Regions from separate parts of the Homo sapiens genome. Here region 1 is linked to region 2. The links are contacts of gene promoters, found by promoter capture Hi-C in blood cells and fetal thymus (Javierre and others, 2016). All regions are on one chromosome and are shown on one strand. The core of a region is centred on a gene start or on the middle of the fragment in contact, and the rest is flanking DNA. Distances in the headings are between cores, read along the strand shown. Region 1 holds the start of FAM3C (FAM3 metabolism regulating signaling molecule C). Region 2 holds the start of WEE2-AS1 (WEE2 antisense RNA 1).

Region 1 (5,509 bases), core at 957-3,456, about 20 Mb after region 2:
AGTGTGGCACTGGGCACACTTCTGAATACAAATCTTCTTGCCTTTCTCAACATCATCCATATTTAATCCTCTCTTTTGTTGCTTGTGCTATGAAGGATGACACTCAGAAGCTGGATGTCACACTCTCTGTATATTCTTTTCGAGTCAACAAAAAAGTTGGGCTTTGAAGTTGAGCACGTGAGTTTGAATCTTAGCTCTGTCTGGTCATAGCAGAAGGACCTTGAGCAAGTTTCACTTTTCTCCGCTGTATTTATAGGATTATTGTGAGAATTAAATAAGTCTATATATATAAAGTGCTTAGAAAAGTGCCTGGTGCACAATAAGCACACAATAAATATCAGCTTTAGAAATATACATTATCAGTAGCTATTATTATATAATATAAATTATCGGTAGTTATTGTAATAGCCAACACCTTTGGCTTATACCTCCTGGAGCTGTAAAGCTCTGTGGTTTTATTAAGCTTAATCATTAATCCTGAATACTTCTCCTGGCTCCCCTACCTCCTGCCAAGTAAAAGTAGGAAGTTATCCTTACTCGTTTATAGGTGTAAGAACTGGCTGATTAACAGGAGTCCTAAAGAAGTGATTTACCAATGTTAAAAAAATTGAAACCCATATTAAGAAATATAATTTCTACTGTATCCAGGACATAGACACACAGACACTCACCCACACATGATGCTGTACAAATGTTTCATGAAGAATACTTATCCTGAATTTATGCTTTGAACTGTTTTTTTTTTCTATTTTTCAGTGAATCAACAGCAACAAAATGTTGGTTGTGACCCATTGTTATTAATTTCATTACCTACCAAAGGGTTCTAAGCTATATCTTATGGTCAGTGGAGAATAGGCTACTAACACATTAAACTTTATGCACAGGAATTGTTTCAGGTGTGGTGCTATAAGAATATGTCACATGTAATTTCCAATCTGGTTGGCTCGGTTACAGAGCAGATTGCTCTTTCAGAAATACACCGTGACCTCCCTACTCAAGAGGCTTCATAAACTCTTTCAGTGAGACATAGCAGTCTAGGAGAGGCATGTGTACAGTAAGTGTTATGATTTTTTGGTACTATAATAAGCAAAGTGCCTTTTTGTTTATTTGGAGCTACATGAAGCTAGGCCGGAATTCCAGCTTCATAACTTACTATCTTGTATTTTTGAGCAAGATATTTAAACTCAGTTTTGGAGTCTTAGTTTTTTGATTTAAGTAATACACAAATAGCATAATATTGGCACATGGAAGACAATGAGAATTCATTTCATGCTTTCTCCCCTGATCACGGATCACAAACTCCAGAATTCATAGTTACTATTAGTTTGTGTGTTTTATATTTTTGGAGGAAAGCTAAAATTTGGTAGATTATTAATTCTATATTAACACACTATAGTCAAACCCTATTTTTAAATGCAATTTAATTTCTGCAACCACTGATGATCCCAATATTCTGTCAAATACTAGGTAACAGTTATTCATTATTTTAGAATATGGATCTGAATTATGAAATAATTTTGCATTCTAAGGTCTTATGTAGTAAGATTTGGATTAACTTCCCAATTATCAACACAATTGTAGGAAATCTCCTGAGAAAAAATATTTCTAACGATTGTGTATCTTATAATTTAAAAAATAAACGTGACTTGGAAAATGCAAGGACTACTGTTCTTCTTGGGTGGTGCATTAAAGGTGATCAGAATTCTAATGACGCTGGACAGTAGGATTTTCAGAATCAGTTTCCTAGGGTTCAAGAAGTCAAACGGCAAATAACCCAAGGTCCTTGGTTGATCTGACCATCTCAGCTATCTCAAGATATATAAGATGACCTAACTGGCGCATCTCTAGGATGGGTGGGTCATTTAAAATGTTCTGCCCTTGAGGCTGGGATTTTGTGCGTGTAAACGGTGGGGAGACGGCGGTGACACATTTTTCTCCCTCCCGTAGTGCCACCCGGCGCAGGGCCGCTGCGGCGGCGGCAGCTCCCACGTGGCAAGTTCAGATTGTGCAGCGCCTGGCCGGGGGCGGTGGGCGGGACCGCAGACCCCTCCCTCCGCTCTCCGGCCCTTCCCTCTGGCCGGCCCGGGCGCCCGCTTGGTCCTCCACCGCCAGGGGGCGGGCGCGGCTTCCCGGCGGCGGGGGCCCATTGGTCGCGGCCGGGAAGCGTGGGAGGAGGCCCAGCGGCGAGCTGGCTTTCTCCTGGCCACTTGCCGGGGTGAGGGGCAGCCGGAGGAGTCCGAGAGGAAGCGGAGGCGCGAGCTGGAGGCGGCGGCTCCCGTCGGCCTCCGGCAGGACTGAGCGCTGGGAGGCCGGAAGGCGGGCGCGCGCGGCGGAGAGGCGGGCGGGAGGCCGGTGAGACGGCTGGGAGGCGGACGGAGCCGGGGCTCAGGTTCGGGGAGGGATGGAGGAGGCCGGGGAAGCCAGACGCCCACCTACGACTTCAGCCTCCGCGCACTGCGGTCACCGGCCGGGGGCGGGCCCCGGGCCCGGCCGCGTTGTCACGGCGTGTCCGGACGTTGGAGAGGGCGCAGGCGGGACTGGGGTCCCGGAGAGCCGCTGGCCGGGGTTCCCGGCCGCCGCCCCGGCGTGGGCATCCCCGGGCTCCGCGGAGACGGGGCGGCGTCTGCACCTGGCGCTGGCACTCGGCGCCCCGGCCTGGGGCGGGCACCTGGGTCGCATCTTCCCCAGGTTGGCTGTGGCTCGCGCCCCTGCAGCGTGTAGGCTGAGAGCTCCGAGAGGTGGGGACGGAGTTGGGTGTTGCATTCCAACTCCATAGGGGGCCGTTTTGACTCACTTGTAAAGTTTTAGTGTCGCCTATACTAGAGGTACTTTTGGTTTTTTACAAGCTATCCAGCCCTTTGATGTTTGGTGTCTCTTCTTTTTCTTCCTATTTGTTTGCTACTGCTCTCACAGCTCGGGACCACGGATGATGATTAGTGGCCCTAGATCTGAATATGTGAGTGACGGATTGGCAATTTGAGATTGAGAGCTCCAGCTGTTTTACTTGTGGGAGGAGCGGTTTCCATCATCCTCTACCTTTTTTTTTTTTAAGAAAAAATATTATTGCCTGTAATATAGAACTGCTATCTAATTGATAGGACTTTTCCTTTGTTTCTTTTTGGCCAACATGGTGAAACCTCGTCTCTACTAAAAAATAAAAAAATTAGCCAGGTGTATGTATCCATATATATATATGTATGTATGTATCCATATATATGTATGTATCCATATATATGTATGTATCCATATATATGTATGTATCCATATATATGTATGTATGTATCCATATATATGTATGTATCCGTATATATGTATGTATCCATGTATCCATATATATGTATGTATCCATATATATATGGATACAATGACATAAATAATATTAGATTGCTTACTGTGTACTAGGCACTGCCAAATGGTTTCGTGTGCTCATTTATTCTCACAACAGCTCAGTGAATAAGTCCCTTTATCTTTTCTAGTTTTACAGATGGAAATATGAACTCCCGAGAGTAAAGGTCAATGCTGATAGCAGAGGCCCCGACCCCTTGGACTTGTGGCCAATTTGCAGTTACGTTTTCTTAAGTCTTGGGAACCGTTACTATTAGTCATACAGTATCTTACAGAGTACCAGCAGATCTCTATTGAATTTAGAAAATAAAAGTTAATCACTTACTGAAAGCCATTTAACAAGAAATTGGCAGAATCAGCAAATCAGCATCCGGTTTTGGTCACTTCATCGACCTGTACCTCTTTCTAGAGGCTACTAGTAGTCTCTTGTGTTTCTTGGCTGTTTACCAATAAAGTCACAAGGTTTTCAGTTTTATACAGGTATTAGAAGCTTTGTTTCACAGATTCTTGTAATGTTTTCTCAACTCAATAAAGACTAGCATTTCTTCATAGGAAGAAATAAGAAGAGTTGGAGCCAATAAAAGGAGTTCAGTCCAGCAGTTCTCAACCTGAGGACCTCTCTGAATTACCAATGGGAACTTTGTAAGAGGGACACAGGACAGGTTCCTCAAAATCCTCATTGTAAGGGGCTTCTGTTTCAAAAGGGAGTAAAAATAAGACACTACTGGCTTAAAGTGACTTTAAAAATAAACTTAATGGATGTTTTATTACAATTACAGATTTTTAATGTGGATTGCTGCCTTAAGCATTGTCAACTAATCTTTCATAATTTATGAAGATACATTAAAAAGGAAAAGGAAATTGGAAAAGACAGCCAAAAGGCTAAGAGGCTATGGAATGGCAAAAAGTAATGTTCCCTGAGGGGGTATCAGAAGACTCATATATTTTCCACCATATATTTTAGGTTTTGAACGATTCATTTTTCAAAAATTTTTATACTCTTAAAAATACTGGAGTGCCTACCATGTACCAGTAATTGTAGATATCATGGATACTATGAATAAGACAGCCTGGGCACTCACAAAGCTACTTTATTTTCTCTAAAGCAGGGAATCTTTTTTATTTTTATTTTTATGCCCATTTCTTAAAGCTGAAAGGTGCAAGACCCAAATAGCAAAAGATTTTTATGTTAGCGCTGAGCTAGATAGATTTTTGTGCGACCTTGGTATAATAGCAAAAGTTTGTCTTGAATTTAGTCCAGAAGCGTCTCTGTTCTTGGGATCAGATGATCAGGATTTGAAGCATTGATTCTGTATTTAGTTATTTCAAGAGTGGCATTGACTAAATTACTTAATATCATGCAGTCCTTTTTAATCTGATTGAGTAGACTGAACCAGGTAATTTCCCAAAATCTTTGAACTTTTAAAAGGTTTTGTACTTTCTTTTAATGCAATTCTTTGAGACACAATCGGCTGACTTCCTCTCAGAGGAGGAAATTAAGTGTTGTAATACCCCTAAGTCTTTCCAGTGTACCCATTAATATTCTTTTTCTTCTTCATTGGCCTGCTCCATTTGATTGAAGCTATTCTTATATTTCCCTTATTTTTAATCTAATTTTGAAAATCCGCTATTCATGATTTTTCTAACTTCAGTGAGTTTTTTCTTCCAATTTTCTTTTTTAAATTAAATTCCTGTAACAGAATTTTTCATTTTATTTTTAAATTATTTACAAAGACAGGGTACCCCACTGTTCTGCAGACTGGAGTGCAGTGGTGTGATCATAACTCACTGTAGCCTTGAACTCCACCTTAGCCTGTGGAGTAGCTAGGTTTACAGGCATGTGCCACCACACACGACTAATTTTATAATTTTTTTTCTTAAAAGACGGGATCTTACTATTTTGCACAGGCTGGCCAAATCTGCCCTCAGGTGATCCTTCGACCTCAGCCTCCCAAAGCTCTGGGATTACAGACATGAGCCCCTATGCCTAGCCAGATTTTCCATTTTAAAGTGTGGCATTTAGCACGTTCATGATGTTATGAACCGTCACGTTTCTAAAACATTTTCATCACCCCAAAAGGAAACCCCATATTCATTAAGCAGTTGTTCATTCCCTTCTCCCTGCCAATCCTCGGCAACCACTGATCTGCTTTCTGCCCCCATA
Region 2 (5,406 bases), core at 1-2,500:
CTCAAAGGTCTTTTGCCCCTGTAGTTAAAAGCCTAAAGAAGTCTTCTGATCACTGTGGCTGATAGTAATACATCTCAGTATTAATACAGACAAGTGACTACCTGTAATACAGGTCTTCGAAACATGGCTTCTATTTTCTTTTCTTACAGTCTAATCTTTAGGCTTTTCCTGAAGGAAAAAAACAAAATAAGAAAAAAACATTACCTCTTATGGCAAAAGTACAACTCACCAGTCCTAAATTCCTAACTATATTCATAATTTTTATGCACTCCAATTTTGTGACCACAACGTACCAACATTCCTGCACATCTGATGAGGATTCCTTCCTCCCTCCCAAATAAACTCACACCTGTATGTCTTTTTGGTCCCAAATAACTTCCTCTTCCTCCAACCCATCGACAAAATTTTGATTCTGAGTTAATCCCACTTCCAATCCACTGTCTTCTCAAATTTCATTACTATGCAAGCTCCCTTAGAGCAGAGATTTGTATCTGCTTTATTCACTGCCATTTTCTAAACTTCTAAAAAAGTTCTTAATGCATAGTAAGGCCTCCATAAATATTAGCATCACCAAGGGACTTATATCTGAAACCTGTTACTGAAAAATTACTGCCTTCATCTCCGTTAACAAAGACCAAGCAGCGTAGAGACCCCCGGGCTAGCCAGCCACACCATAGGGAGAGGTGGACACCCTTTACCGAAGATGGCGCCACCACCTGAAAACCGAGGAGAACTGGAAGGAAATCACGCGGTCCTCCGCACGACTGATGAAAGGGCCAGACACCTACACAGAAACACCTCCCGACCCACGCAGGATCACGCGCAGCCAAAACACACGACTCCAGCACTTCCTTCGCGCTGGCTATCCCTTCCTCCCTCACCTGACGATCTAACCCGAGCAGCCCAGCCACGCAGGGGATCACTTCCGGCGCACAGGGAACGCAAAGCTCGCCAGAGGAAAAAGGAAACAGAAACTCCGCAACTTGCGCCTTGGAAATACTGCCGGCTAGCGCTGCGGGAAACGGCTCCCCTTAACTCTGAAGTTCCGCGATCTTCTCTTTGTGCGCGGGCGGATGGATCAACGCCGCCAAGTGGTGAGTTTGGAAGGTTTCAAGTTTAGAAGGTTTCAAGTTTAGAAGGTTTCAAGTTTGGAAAGAAATGAAATTATGTGATGAGGTTTCTAACTGGGCCCAGGAGGGGGCGAGGTAGGCAAAACAGAGACTAGCTCTGCCTGGAGGGAAAAAAAAGCAACATTTGTGACCAGCCTAGGCGACATAGTGAGACCTGTCTCTACAAAAAATATATAATTAGCTGGGCGTGGTGGCGCGCGCCTGTGGTCCAAGCTTCTCCGGAGGCTGAGGTCGGGGGATCGCCTGAGCCCTGGAGGTCGTTGCTGCATTGAGCCGTGAACGCACCACTGCATTCCAGCCTGGGCAACAGAGCGAACTCTATCTCAAAACAAAACAAAACAAAACAAGAAAAAGAAAAAAAGAAGAAAATTAAAAAAAAAAAGAAAGAAAAAGAACGTCCCAGGTCTGTTGAAGCACTAAGAAAAGCAGAAAAAGAAAGGGGAGCCAGGGAAGGGCTGGCAGGCTGTGCAATTTAAGGGAGCACCAGAAAAACTGGCAATCAAATAATATATTAATGTAATATTTTAAAAAGTAAAAATTAATGCAGGAAATCCGGGAGGAACAAAATAAGAGTCATGTGTACCTTAACAACAGGGTAAGGTCTGAGGATTGCGTCATTAGGCGATTTTGTTGCTGTACGAACACCACAGAATGTACTTTGACGACCTAGATGGTGGAGCCTGGACACACCTCGGCTCTGTGGTGTGGCCTGCTGCTTCCAGGCTGCAAACCTGACAGCATGGGGCTGTACTGAATACCGCAGACCATTGTAATTCATGGTAAGTATCTGTGTGTCTAAACATATGTAAACATGGAAAAGGTACAGTACAAATGCGGTATAAAAGATAAAAATGGCACACCTGTATGGGGCGCTTACCATGAATGGAGCTTGCGGAACTGGAAGTTGCTGTGGGTGAGTAAATGAGTGAGTGGTGGCCCAACATGAAGGTCTAGGACATTATTGTACCCACTAAACACTTCATAAACACTGTACACTTAGGCTACACTCAGTTTATAAAAAATACTTTTCTTCCTTTAATAAACTTTCACTCACTATAACTTTATAAATCTTCCAAATTTTTTTACGTTTTAACTGTTTTGTAATAACAATTAGCTTAAAACACACACTGTACCACTGTACAAAAATATTTTTCTTATATCCTTATTCTACAAGCTTTTTTCTACCTTTGCTTTTTTTCTTTTTTTTTTTAACTTTTTAGCCATTTTTTAAAAAAACTAAGACATAAACACACACATTAGCCTAGGCCTACACAGGGTCATTATGATCAATCTCAGCCTTCCACTTCCACATCTTGTCCCACTGGAAGGTTTTCAGAAGCAGTGACACACAGGGAGCTGTCATCTCCTATAACAGTGTCTTCTTCTGGAATCCCTCCTGAAGGACCTGCCTGAGGCTGTTTTACAGTTAACTTTTAAAAAATAAGTTAAATAATAATATAATAAAAAGTATAGTAAATACATAAACCAGTGACATAGTCATTATTAATATCAAGTAACACATGAGTAATACATTGCATTCTGATGTTTTAGCAGGTATGATGTCACTAGACGATAGGAATTTTTCAACTCCATTGTAATCTTATGGGACCACCTTTGTATATGCACTGTTGTATATGCAGTCTTTTTCCAAAACATCATTATGAAGTGCATGACTGTATTAAAATTTTAACTGAATACAGGATCCAAGCCAGACTGGAGCCTGAGGCACAAGGAAGAATATGCACCCCTGTGTATATGTGTACTTATGTATTTTTAAAAATTGGGGCTAGGAAGGTTAGTGGGGGGCTGGAGGGAAGGTGGGGATGGTTAATGGGTACAAAAAAATAGAACGAATAAGACCTACTATTTTCGATGGCACAATAGGTTGACTATAGTCAATAATTACTTAACTGTACATTTTAAAATAAGAGTGTTATTGGATTGTGTGTAACTCAAAGGATAAATTAAGATGATACCCCATCCCCCATGATGTGCTTATTTGACGTTGCATACCTGTATCAAAATATCTCATGTACTCCATAAATATATACACTTCCTTTGAACCCACAAAAATTAAAAATAAAGACAAAAACAAAAAAAAATGTTTAATTAAAAAAATTTTGGCCAGGTCCAGTAGCTCATGTTTGTAATCCCAGCACTTTGGGAGGTTGAGGGGGTGGATCACTTGAGCCCAGGAGTTCAAGATCAGCTTGAGCAACATGGCAAAACCCTGTCTCTGTAAAAAATACAAAAATTAGCCAGGCAGCCGGGCGCCGTGGCTCACGCCCATAATCCCAGCACTTTGGGAGGCCAAGGCGGGCCGATCACGAGGTCAGGAGATCGAGACCATCCCGGCTAACACGGTGAAACCCCGTCTCTACCTAAAAATACAAAAAATTAGCTGGGCGTGGTAGTGGGTGCCTGTAGTCCCAACTACTAGGGAGGCTGAGGCAGGAGAATGTCGAGAGCCCGGGAGACGGAGCTTGCAGTGAGCTGAGATCGTGCCCCTGCACTCCAGCCTGGGCAACAGTGCGAGACTCCGTCTCAAAAAAAAAAAAAAAAAATTAGCCAGGCATAGTGGTATGTGCTTATAATCCCAGCTACTGAAGTGGGAGGATCGCTTGAGCCTGGGAAGTTGAGGCTTCAGTGAGCCATGATCACACCACTGCACTCCAGCCTGTGCAACAGAGTGAGAGACCCTGTCTCAAAAAATATATATATGTGTGTATATATATATGTGTATATATATCAATATGTATGAATGAAATATGTGTGTATATATATCTCAATATATATACACATATATATTTTTGAGACGGTATATATATATCATCACACAAAATATATGTATGTATATATGTGTATATATATCAATATATATGTATATGTGTTATATATCAATATATATACACATATATTTCCAGAACATTAAAGTAGTTGAAGAAGTATTGAAAATTTTTAAAGTAGATATTGTAACAAGAAAAACCCAGAATTGCATTAATAAAAACCTTCCCCCAAACTGAGAGGAAGCCGAGAAACCAAAGATTGACCCAGACAAGTCCAGCTTGGCGAGTAGAGGAGTTTATCAGGACTTACATACAAGGCACTCCTGGATGGCAGCATGACAGCTGTAGAGATCCGCCTGGCCTCCCATCCCTAAGCTACTTGTAAGCTAATTTTCTGGCTTTTAGCCTACTGTGTGTGATGGAGCTGTTTTCTTTGGTAGGTTCTCAGATATTCTCTGGGATGTTTGGCTTCTCAAACAGCTGCTCTTTGGCTGGTCACCTTGGCCTTGCCACATGGCCTTCAGGATTCAGGCAGTGGACATACACTCTTTAGTAACCCGGGTGGGGGGGACCTGTTACACTACAGGTGTATTAAAATTCACAACATTGTTTTAAGTTTAAATATTTTATTTATGCCAAGATGGATGTAATATAACTTTACTTTTAATGGAAGTAAACTGATCAGTAATGTGTTCAAATCTGCTTTGCTTGTTTTGAGAGAATTGCCATGCCTTCACAATTTTTCTTGACCAAGTAACAACCTTAAATAATTTTAATTAACTTCAGCTTACTGATCTTGTCTTTATTTAAAATTTTGGTATTTTATTCATCATGAATTTTTTTCATTAGTTTTAATATTTTAAGAATATTTCATTAAAGTATCACAAATCTTGATTGCTGAGTTCCTTGGTGCCCCTTAAATTCCTTCTCATTTACGCTAACCCTGGGCCTAGTGGGAAAAAGGATGTATGGAGCCCCATAAATTGCAGAACCCACACCAGCGGGGGCTGCCCCTTCCACTCCTTCTCCTGGTCCTGGCACTGTCCAGACTGTGGAGAAAGAAGGTACCCACCATATTGTTCTAACAGGCAAATCACCTCCTCAGGCCTCTACCTAAAACCTTTCATCTGCCCATTTTTGCCATTTAGGGATAAAATCTTAAGATAGCTTCCAACACACACACTTTAACGCACTCCTGAAGGTCTTGCTCACCAGTTGGTAAACTGTATTTCTAGATGCTTACCTCCATTTTACTGGCACCTTCACAATGTTGAGCTCCTAAAACATACCATGTTATACTGCCTTCAAGCCTTGCACAGGAATTAGTAATCCCACACCCCACCTGCTATGTTACTACTGTCAATGACTTCCAATGATTTTCTCTTTAAAAATCCTGCTTCCACTTGAGGGGTAGAGTCAAATGAAAAACAATTCACCCTTTTGCCCAAAGTCAGTTTCTCCCTTCTAAGCTCCTTGTTTAATGGTACCAA

The links. Contacts are between HindIII fragments. The CHiCAGO score rates a contact against its expected background, and 5 or more counts as called.
Region 1: a contact is called between the fragment with the promoter of FAM3C here and the fragment with the promoter of WEE2-AS1 in region 2, in 1 of 17 cell types (total CD4 T cells). The highest score is 6.0, in total CD4 T cells.

Annotation. Positions count from the first base shown.
Region 1 is chr7:121,393,005-121,398,513 of GRCh38, reverse strand. It overlaps FAM3C (FAM3 metabolism regulating signaling molecule C), which reads left to right and starts at 2,206. Exons shown (of 10, transcript NM_014888.3): 1 at 2,206-2,352. It also overlaps the pseudogene CYCSP19. RefSeq lists silencers at 1,842-1,901, 1,942-2,771 and enhancers at 1,999-2,583, 2,584-3,169. The HindIII fragment of the contact is 3,372 bases long and covers 466-3,837 here.
Region 2 is chr7:141,733,886-141,739,291 of GRCh38, reverse strand. It overlaps WEE2-AS1 (WEE2 antisense RNA 1), which reads left to right and starts at 1,250. Exons shown (of 4, transcript NR_199841.1): 1 at 1,250-1,909. It overlaps SSBP1 (single stranded DNA binding protein 1), which reads right to left and starts at 934. Exons shown (of 7, transcript NM_003143.3): 1 at 882-934; 2 at 102-168. The coding sequence starts at 125. RefSeq lists an enhancer at 1,032-1,917. The HindIII fragment of the contact is 7,644 bases long and covers 1-1,345 here.